Regions from separate parts of the Homo sapiens genome. Here region 1 is linked to region 2. Evidence: promoter capture Hi-C in 16 types of primary human blood cells and fetal thymus (Javierre and others, 2016). All regions are on one chromosome and are shown on one strand. The core of a region is centred on a gene start or on the middle of the fragment in contact, and the rest is flanking DNA. Distances in the headings are between cores, read along the strand shown. Region 1 overlaps MARCHF1 (membrane associated ring-CH-type finger 1). Region 2 holds the start of TKTL2 (transketolase like 2).

The links. Contacts are between HindIII fragments. The CHiCAGO score rates a contact against its expected background, and 5 or more counts as called.
Region 1: a contact is called between a fragment that was not itself captured here and the fragment with the promoter of TKTL2 in region 2, in 1 of 17 cell types (monocytes). The highest score is 7.1, in monocytes.

The regions. Positions count from the first base shown.
Region 1 is chr4:163,691,525-163,696,916 of GRCh38, forward strand. All of the region lies in intron 5 of MARCHF1 (membrane associated ring-CH-type finger 1), which reads right to left. It overlaps LOC107986325 (a long non-coding RNA gene), which reads left to right. Exons shown (of 3, transcript XR_001741915.3): 2 at 2,606-2,701. Among named protein-coding and RNA genes, the nearest start is that of TMA16, 200 kb to the left of the region's middle. RefSeq lists an enhancer at 2,029-3,228. The HindIII fragment of the contact is 5,023 bases long and covers 526-5,392 here.
Region 2 is chr4:163,471,295-163,476,588 of GRCh38, forward strand. It overlaps TKTL2 (transketolase like 2), which reads right to left and starts at 2,460. Exons shown (of 1, transcript NM_032136.5): 1 at 1-2,460. The coding sequence starts at 2,440. The coding sequence ends at 560. The HindIII fragment of the contact is 3,282 bases long and covers 1-3,189 here.

The DNA of each region.
Region 1 (5,392 bases), core at 1,787-4,286, 220 kb after region 2:
AGGCAAGCTACCCAGAGCAGCATAAGTGCTGGAAAAAGGTGAAAGGAATCTAAAATGAATGGGTGAAAACAATGGTGAGTATCAGTTATGACCTGTGAACCAGATGCAACAATGAGGGCTCTGTTTCATTCCACTTAACCTTTTCTTATAAGTTTCCTACAAACTGTAACCAACCAAAATCCTGGAGAAGCTATGTTGAGGTGAAACAAACTTAATTTGAAACTTAAATGGATCTCAGTGGTCCAAGCAGTCATCAATGGTGGAGGTTTTTCCCCACGCAGATGTTTACTACAGGCCAGTGCCCACATTACCCAGCTGCTGTGTGGCTGATGATCATAGCTACTCCCTTCTCTGGAGAATCACCTTTGGCCTAACAGGAACTTTCTCAGCCAAAAGTCTATATACTCTCCTACCCCAACAGGCCAATAGCTGCTTGACAGAGATGGGGAGACTGACTGCTTTTCCTCAAGAGAGGGTTAACATGTGGTGCAATTTGTCTGGCAGAGGTTCCCTACGGGATCAGGAAGCTTGTGTGTATTGGTCACATGTTCACGGACTGGCGTGGCCCAAGGATCATTGCTCATAAGTCCACAGATCCCATGTTAAGAACTTATGTATTATAAGTTAACAAAACAAAGCAGGCTCTATTCATTAATTCAACATATATTTGTTGAGTGTGTCCTACTTATCAGTCCCTCTTCTGGGGCTGAGGAAGCAGCCTTGAGTGAAGAAATAGTTATTGCCCTCATAGAAGTTAAACCAATAAAAAATATATAATACTGCAGATTATGATAAAATTCTTAAATAAAAATAAGTAGCAAAGGAAATAGGTCCTCACTGATAAAGTGGTATTTGAGTAGAAATGTAACAGAGACAAGGAAACCAATCTTAGTGCTGTGTGGGCAATGAGCATTCTGGGCAGCAGCAGCATGAAGGGCAAATGCCCTGAAAACAAAACCTATGCTTGAGGAACAAGAGGAAGTCAGTGTGTCTGGACATGAGTTATTAAGAGGAAGAATGAGAAGAAAATTAGCGAGATACCACAGGGCTGGATTATGGCTCCTTGGCCCCTGAAAGAATTTATGTTTTATTTCAAGTAATATAGAAAACCATTAGAGGTTTTGAACAGCAGCAAGACATTAGCTAACTGATATTTGGAAAGGATCATTTTGGTTGTTGTATGAAAAATAGACTTAAAAAATATAAGGATGATTGTTTCCACCATGTCACCATTTAGCTTCTCGGTCTGTTCCCTGTAGAAAACTGGTAGGTCAGGCAAATGACAGTAGATCATGGCAAATGCAACCAAGTAGAAGCACTAACTGAAGCTGTTGTGTGCGGTATGTAATATCTTTACTAGAGAAGAACAACACAATATCTGGCATGTGGTATGAGGCTATTAATCCACGAATGTGTTCTTTTCAATATTTGTCATAAATGTGGATCAAAAGCAGTTTGTATTCATCTGGCATGGACGTTAATATACAATCATGGTCCTGTTCCAGGGATATTTTGCAAAACAGATAGGAGGTAGACTCAAATGTCCAGTGGTTGTCAAATATCAGAACAGTCCATTGTATTTATGATATCATCAGGTATAATGAGGTCTAATGAGCAGGAAGGGCCAATAATCTGAATGCTTTGTTAGGATATCTGTGTCCCAGAGAGTAGGAAATAAAACGAACGTATCTTCAGGAGCTGGACAAATCAGTGAAATTTTTAGAAATTCTGTAGTCTACTGCATGCTAGTGCATTTCTTCCAGAGTTAAGACCAAATTTTGCATTTTACTTTACTATCAAGAAGGACCCAGGCTGTTTGGTAGAACTCTTTGAATTTTAAACACAGCATAAACCACATTTTGGAATGATGCCTCTTTAACAGATGACTCAGAAAGCTGCAGTTCTGAGTGGGGCCTAGAATGATAGAAGGTTCTGCAGCAATATCAGCTGCAATACAAGCACCCTTGATGCCACAGCAATAATAAATGGCAATACTACTAGAGGTACCATGATAAATAAAAATGCAATGTGGGCTCTCTGTCAAATCTGAATGGAGAACTGCAGTGAAAACCCTAGTGTTCTGGATCAAGGCCATACTATTGCAGCATAGTTCTTTCACCATTTGGAAAGCAGCTCCTAACAAGCTACCTGGCCATAGTAAGACTAAAGGCCTTTGTATGGACATCAGTTGACCATATGACTGGAACTATCCCTCATGAGCTTAATAACACATGTTATATTGTCCAGTAGGCAGAGCAGCAATTTATTGAACAATGGAACTAACTCATTATAAGAAAGTAGGGTTGCTGCTACTTGGGAGAGCAAGAAATATTTTGAAATTTGCGGAAATCCACTGTTGCATATTTTCGTTTACCCACACCCAGGTTTAACTTCAAATAAGTGATTACAGCAACTACAGCATGATAAGGTTCAAAGGTCAGAGACACTTCACCAGCAAGCCACTTAGACTAACAGAAGTGATCATCAAGAATGAAGGATATTTGGAATGAGTCAGAAGAAGGATATGATGAATCAGTTATAACTTTGCAGCTGCAAGTAGTGAGAGCCCATTCGGCTAATCAATGTCTTTTAAGTTTCTCCTCAGAAACGGTGGCCAATCATCATCTATACAAATCCATGACAGGATGAAATGAGTTCATGTGGATCTGGGTGGCTCAAAGGATGGACGACAGCAGGTGCTGTGAGTATTCCACCAAAATCCCTTTGGGTCCCTCTCACTGGTTCAGTACACATCTCCTTTGGCTTCTGGGTGCTTTTGTTTCTAAAGTCCCACTACTGCAATTCTCTTTGGAAAACTTCCCTTTGGCTTCTTGGACAGTTTACCTGCATGTAAAGAGAATCAAAATGGCTGGGAGTTTTTCTCACCCTGAATGACCCTGAGCCAATGAATGGCAAATACTGGAGGATGAAAGCCTTGCTCCCTTGCCTCAAGAGGGGACAAAGTGAAGTGCATTTTACATTCCAGAATCCCTATGCAGGAGCAGGGAAATTCTGACTTCTTTCTCTTCCCTGGGCTGCCTTTCTTACTCCTTGGATGTCTTGTCCTAGGAATATTCTCATAGTGAGTCATTGCAAAAAAATTATCATCTCAGGATCTGCTGTGATAAACCTGACCTAAGACAGATTCCTATTACACATTTTGTGGGAAATTTGATTACCATTTTGAGTCTGGAATTTATGGCAGAGATTTGAGCTAAAAATATCTTGATAGCTGTTGGGCTATTGATTATATATAAAGTTATGAGGCTAAATGAGATCGCCCAAGGAGTGAGTGTATATAAATAACATGCTTCAGGACATAAGAAGGTCTCAGACTTTCTTATCTTCTCCCTTGAATAATTAAACTAAATTTATACCCATTTCCTCAACTTTGGTCTCAGGACAGACCTTAACTCAGGGTCTCTGAAAGTCCTCAAATTAGTCCACCTCATTTCTAGTTATTTCCTAATTATATATCCTACTTTACTTCATCAACCTACCAAACTTACCCTCTAAAGGTATATAGTCTGAAGGGATAGATGATTTATAGGTCCATTGTGTTAGCAAACCAAAATGGATCTCTCAATAAATCAGAACATTAAACACCTGTTCAGAGGTGCAAACACTTGGCTCAGGTTTTCAGCTGAAAAGAATTCTCAGTACATTTTATACATAAGAAACACTTTCACCTTGACCTTGCTGGAAAGTACTTTGGGATCTTAAAGGCAAGTCTGGAAAAATATGGAGAGATGAAGATTTACAGAAGTAAAATTAAAGTATATATTGGATCAGAAGAAAACACCTATTTAAAATGCTGTGAACCATAGAATACCTTGTACACAGTACGTCATCAAAAAATATTTGTTGAGTAAATTGTACTGAAATTGTACTGACTATCCCATGCATCTTTATTTATTGCAGAATTAACTGGTGTGCACATTTTATAAACTTTACCTTGAAATTTTGTAAGATATTTTAAGGTAGAGACTAACTGAAGAATTGAAATGACTCTCTGTCATGTAAATGAAGTCTAGTGAATGTAATAGGAAATGATGGAAACTAACTGAAATATCATTTTGTTAAGCTAGTGGCTTTTGAATTTCTTCTCATAAACAGATTAGATTTTGTGAGCTGCTTCCTACACACACCAAAAAGCAAAGGATTTTATTTAAAAGAAAATTCTGTTGACTTGAATTGGAAGTACAAGCCGTTCTTTCCTTTTGACAGTTGGCTTTTGAAAGGTTTTTCTTGGGAGATACATATTACACTGTTGCTAGTTAAATGTAATGATCCTTTACCCTAGAAGAAATAAAAGGCAAGATTTGGCTGACTTTTCTTCTTGAGGAACCTATTTGTGAGTAATATGTGTGTTAAAAAGCAGTAACAAGCACTAATATAAAAAAGTATTAAAAACTTAAGTGATGGATAATTGAAAGCTGCCTTTTTCACATCCAAGATATTTTGATAATCTCACATATACTATAGTAAACCTATATAACTTATCTGTAGCTTTTGGATCAACTGTAACGTATCCAAGGCACACCAACCTTACTTGAATTAAAAAAGAAGAGAAAGAAAGAGAGAATCATAGGTGTAACTGTCTTATATTTACTAAGACAAACTAGAAATATAAATTAATAAAAAAGTAAATTTTGCAAGGACCATAAAATTCAAAGTATAATTGCTGTTGAATAATATATGGTACAAAGATCCAGAGGTAAAAACTTAGGAGATATAATTTTTGATGTTCACGAGCAATTGCACATTTATTATTTATCCCATGTTTGGAATTTTTTACTTTCACAGTAGCAAGATCATGTTTATAAGACACAGTCCTGAATGGCAAAAATAATAATGTTCCATTTCATACATACTCATTAAGAAAAGTCTCAAGGACCTTGATGGGTTCTAGATCAATTTCTCTGTTTCTAAGCCAGATGACACTTCAGTGACTGCTGTTGAGCACCAAGACTCTCATGAACTTCCCTGGTAGGTGACACTTCTTCACATGAGCTGTCAAACTCATTGAGCTTGACAGTCTCACATAGATTGAGATTGTATGACCTTTATGACTAGACTGAAGATAATGCATTCTATTATTTAAAGTTCCATCTCAAAAACCCTTACAAAGTATTTTATATAACTTCTTCCTTATGATCTATGTTTTCTAGCTTCCATGGCTTGGACTTATAACCCTTTAAACAGCCTTCCCTGACAGTTGATCAATTCACACCCATTCTTCAAGTGCCTTTTTACATACTATGCTTCTAAGAAATTTTCTCTGCTGCTACCCTGTCCCAATTAGATGGAAGTGATGGCTCTCCGAATTCCCATAGCTTCTGTCTATACTTCTTTTTTAGGTAGCATATTAGGGGTTCCATTCACCACACCC
Region 2 (5,294 bases), core at 1,210-3,709:
GTTCCACTGCTGCACCATCACCTCCAAACTGTAGAGGAGAGATGAAGGCAAACTTTGGAGGAATTTCCAAGGCAACTGCAGTCAAACATTATCTGTAAAACTGCAGGTATAAATGGCATTATACAAAAGCTCAAACATCCTTCAAAACTTGGACTATTGAAGTCTACAATTAAATTTCAATTTTTTTAACTTACAAGGAAATCATACTCATTTAAGATACAGTTACCTCTACTTTAATCCCCAGCTCAGTCAGATATTTGTAGTCTTATCAGAAATATTTGTATTAGGTAGTTGTTTTATTTCCTATTCTATTGCTTACAATTTTAAAATCCACATTAATAACTCAGAGTAACATTTATACATAGATTAACAGAAAGGTAAACTTTAATTTCCAAATTAGGAATGAAGAAAGATGTTAAATGGCTTTGCTTTAAAAGAAACAGTACAACTGTATAGGTATAAATAATGGTTTTGTGACAATAAACATGAATTTAATACAAAGATACCAGTGCTTTTGGGCCAAAGCCAATAGACTTGACTTTTTAGAAATAAGCCTAGTTTACTTCATTAAAGTAAGTGTTACGGCTGCTATAATGTGTCTGGTACTGATTCCAAACATATCCAGCAATTCACTAGTTTTCCCACGTTGAGGCACTCCTGACACTGCCAGTTGATGAACAAGGATATCAGGCTCCCTGGAGACAGCTGCACAAACAGCTTCTCCAATGCCACCTTCCCTGTAGTGATCCTCCACTGTGATAACTCGGCCGCCTGTGGCTTTTGCACTGGAGATGATGGTGGCGGCATCCAGGGGTTTAATGGTAAATGGGTCGATGACACGGACAGAAATACCTTGTTGAGAAAGATGGTCAGCAGCTTCTAAGGCTTCATGGAGAGTAACTCCAGCTCCAATTACTGTGACTTTATCATTGACACCGTGGCGGACCACCTTGGCCTGGCCAATCTCAAAATTTTCTTGTGGGGTATAAATAACTGCAGTTTCTGGTTGGCTGGTTCGAATGAAGCACATTCCCTTGGTATTGGCGGCTAGATAAATAGCATGCTCTGTCGAGATGGCATCACTTGGATAGAAAACAGTACAATTGGGAATGCTTCGGAACATGGCTAGATCCTCCAGGGCCATCTGGGAGACTCCATCTTCTCCAGTGGATACCCCACAGTGGGAACCAATAAGGTTGATATTGGCTTGAGAAATGGCTCCCATTCGGAGCTGATCGAATGCTCTAGTAAAAAAGGCAGCAAAAGCACCAGCAAAAGCAATGGTTCGACCACGTGTAGCACAGCCTAGTGCCACACTTACCATGTTTTGTTCAGCAATAATACACTCTATGAAACGCTCAGGGTGTTCTTTCCTGAATATCTCAGAAAAGGTGGAGTTCATCGTGTCACCACTCAGAACAATAACTCTTTCATTTGCACGGCCCAGTTTAGCCAGAGCCAAACCATATGTTTTCTGAGTAGCTATCTTGTCACCAACTTTGTAAGCAGGTGGGGAGGTCATTTTTATATCTGTGATGCTTATTTGAGGTGAGTCTTCCACAGGCGATTTTGGTATGAGATTCTCATTGGTCTGTATCTGACTCTCAATTAATTTGACAATTGCATCTGCTCTTTCTTTTGGCACTGGCTTTCCATGCCAATTTTCTGCATCCTCAATATTTGGAATACCCCGACCTTTGAAGGTCTTGGCAACTATAGCAGTAGGCTTGTTCTTCACTTGACTTGCTTGCCAAAATGCTTGGCACAAGGCCTCCACATCATGGCCATCCACTAAGTAAGTATTCCATCCAAAGGCTTCACAGCAATTCTGGTAGATGTCTGCGCCATGCTCAAGGGGTGCAGGGCCACTTTGTCCCAAGCGGTTCACGTCGAAGACCGCCACGAGATTGTCCAAGTTGTAGTGGGAGGCAAAAGCAAAAGCCTCCCACACAGAGCCTTCTGAGGATTCGCCATCTCCCATAAGGCAGAACACCCGGTAGCTGGCCTTGTCAAGGTACTTGCCAGTATAAGCCATTCCACATGCAGTACCTAATCCCTGACCTAGGGACCCTGTTGCCACGTCAACAAACGGCAATCGGGGGGTAGGGTGTCTCTCCAAGTCGCTGTGAAGTTTCCTCAGGTTCAGCAAGTCAGATTCACTGATGTCACCCACCTCCACCCAAGCAGCATAGAGGATAGGAGCAGCATGTCCCCTGGAGAGGATGAACCGGTCGTTGTCCGGGTGTTCTGGGTCTGTCTGTTTATACTTCATCGTGTGGAAGAAGAGGACAGACACGACCTCCGCTGCACTGCAGCACGACGTGAGCTGGCCAGAACCAGAGGCACACGTGGCCCTGATGGAATGGATCCGCAGGCGGTTGGCTGTGTCCCGCAGCACCTGCACGGTCTTCACGTCGGGCTTGGCGTCGTTGGCCATCATCTCTCTTTTGTCGGTTTGGCAAAGCAAACGGCGCCGCAGCACCCCCACAACCCACCGCGGCAGTGCTCTCACGTGACCGCCCCGCCCTCGCCTCCCCTCTGCCTGAAGGCCTGAGCTCAGCCACCAGCCGGGGCGCCCACAACGGAGCTTCCCGCGAGACTGAGGAAACGGAAACGTTGGAGTAGCCTGCACCCTCTGATGTGCACCGTTCCCTCTCCCTGTCCACGCCCAGCTGAATGGATTTTTAGTATTTACTTTGTCACGTGCATGTTCAACATTAGGAAGCATAATTAAATTTTTTACCTTTCCCTGTGTTATAAATTCAAGACTAGACATTTTTCTGTGTATTATAGGAAGCGATTTGTCAGGCTGTGCTTTTTTAATGCATTAACACTATATCCGAGTCATCACTCTTTCATATCAGAACATTAATAGAAAGGATACAAAGTCACTTTCAATCTGACCAGTATGGCAATGCTATCTCAACAGAGACTTTCTCAGAGCAACCAAATATCTGAATCTCAGACTTATAGAAAGAAATGCAATGACTAATTTGACCAAAATTTATAGGAAGAACAAATCTGAAACCACCCAATTGCAGAATAGAATTGCAACTCCAGTGTGCCGTAAAGTACTATTTCTGTGTTGAAATAATTAGAAGGCCAGTAGGCTGAGGTAGCTTCAGCTCCATGAGTTCCTACCTAAGGAAAGGAAACCCAAATCAGTGTAAATGATAAAAAGGAAATTTAAGCTTAATCAATCAGAAACTGCCAGCTAACTTCTAACTGGGGACTTTCCACTGGGATGACCCAAATAAGTCTAGTACTCCACTTTAACCAATCAAATATCTTTCCTTTGCTTCCAAATTCACCCTATAAAAGCCTTCTCCTTGGCTCCTTTATCAGGAGCTACCAGATTCATGAATCACTGAATGGTCAAATAAATGCTTTAATATTTTAATGTGCCTCAGTTTATCTTTTAATGACTATTACTACAAATCATTTTTAAGACAAAGTTACTTACTTTAAAAAACTAAATTTGTGGGCCGGGTGCTGTGGCTCACACCTGTAATCCCAGCACTTTGGGAGGCCGAGGCAGGCGGATCACAAGGTCAGGAGTTCGAGACCATCCTGGCTAACACGGTGAAACCCCGTGTCTACTAAAAATACAAAAAAATTAGCTGGGCGTGGTGATGGGCACCTGTAGTCCCAGCTACTCGGGAGGCTGAGGCAGGAGAATGGCGTGAACCTGGGAGGTGGAGCTTGCAGTGAGCCCAGATTGTGCCACTGCACTCCAGCCTGGGAGACAGAGCGAGACTCCGTCTAAAACAAAAAAAACTAAATTTGTGCCATTGAACTCTTCTAGCAGGCCAAGGTTATGGTTTGTCATCAATAAAACAACAATTAAAAAAAACACAATGATAATATATCATACCTTCCCATATTGCGATGTTAAACCTCTTGGTTTCTTGAGCAATAATTCTTACCTTAACTTCACGTTAAAATTAGGGCACATAAGAAACACAATGCCTGGTTCCATCCCAGAAAAATAGAATTTGAATTTCTGGACCTGGAGTCTGGGAAGCTATGTTTCTAAAATACATCCATTGATTATAATGGGTAGTCAAGGTTAATAACATAATCTGGAGATAGTCTGAGACCAGTGGTTCTCAACATTAGTTGTAGTTTAGAATTATCTGGGAAGTTTTAAAAACATCTCATGTCCATGCTGCACTCCAGACCAATTATATCAGAATTTCTAGGCAATAGATCTAGGCGTCAGTAATTTTAAAATCTTCCCCAGGCAATTTCAATGTTCAGTCAGGGTTGTAAACAACTAACTCAGGGGGTGTTGTTACTCTTTATACTTATTATCTCTTGCATTATATCTCAGAAAAATATTTCAAATGTTATTTGCTATTTCAACTAGTTCTATCATTTTAACTTTTAAGGACACATATTAGAATAAATAGTAATAATATGACACTACTGATTTTAAGACTTGTTGCAGGAATGTTGGCATTGGAGAAGTTCTTAAGAGGTCATCATGTATCCATAACTCTCCATGTCCTTTGCAAATTAAAGCTTGTTTATCTTTTTAGACAAATAAAGGAGGAGGAAATACAAGCAGACTAGGCTAGAACTGGTAGTACAGAAGATGGGAATTAGAGAAAAAATAATAATCACAGTAAAATAATAGCAAACTACTACAGGCTGACAGGAAAGTAGTTAATATAAACACAGGTAGCTCACCATTATTTTGGCCAAAAAGAACTCTAATAAATCCACACAATTAGTAAACATGATAGTACAAAAATGATTTATGAGGCAATGTTCCCATGAATAAAAACATGGGACTTCTTAACATTTCTTTCCAAGTTCCCACATTCTTTCACTCATTTAAAACATTGCACAGCTATTTCCTAAAGTATTAAATAAAAAAATTTTAACATTAGCAAAGGTCAATTTTATTAAGAGAAGAATGTAGTCTTGGAGATTTAATACCCTAGATAGTGAGTGTGAATTTCCCTCTATCATTCTGTGAGACCGTGTGAATTTTTTATACTATATAGAAAATAATATTTTATAAATTATGTGTAAAATACTTATAAACCATTCTGAGATTTTGTAAAAGGAACTCTGGAAAGATATATATATATATATATATATAAATATATAAAAGTATATATATAGTAAAATATCTGGAAAGATATACTATATATAAAAGTATATATATTATATATAAAAACTCATATCAATATATGTAATATATATTAAGTTTATATAAAATTAATTTTATATTAATATGTTATATAAATAACATATATAAGCTGTTAATTATTTTCTTTAAGCAT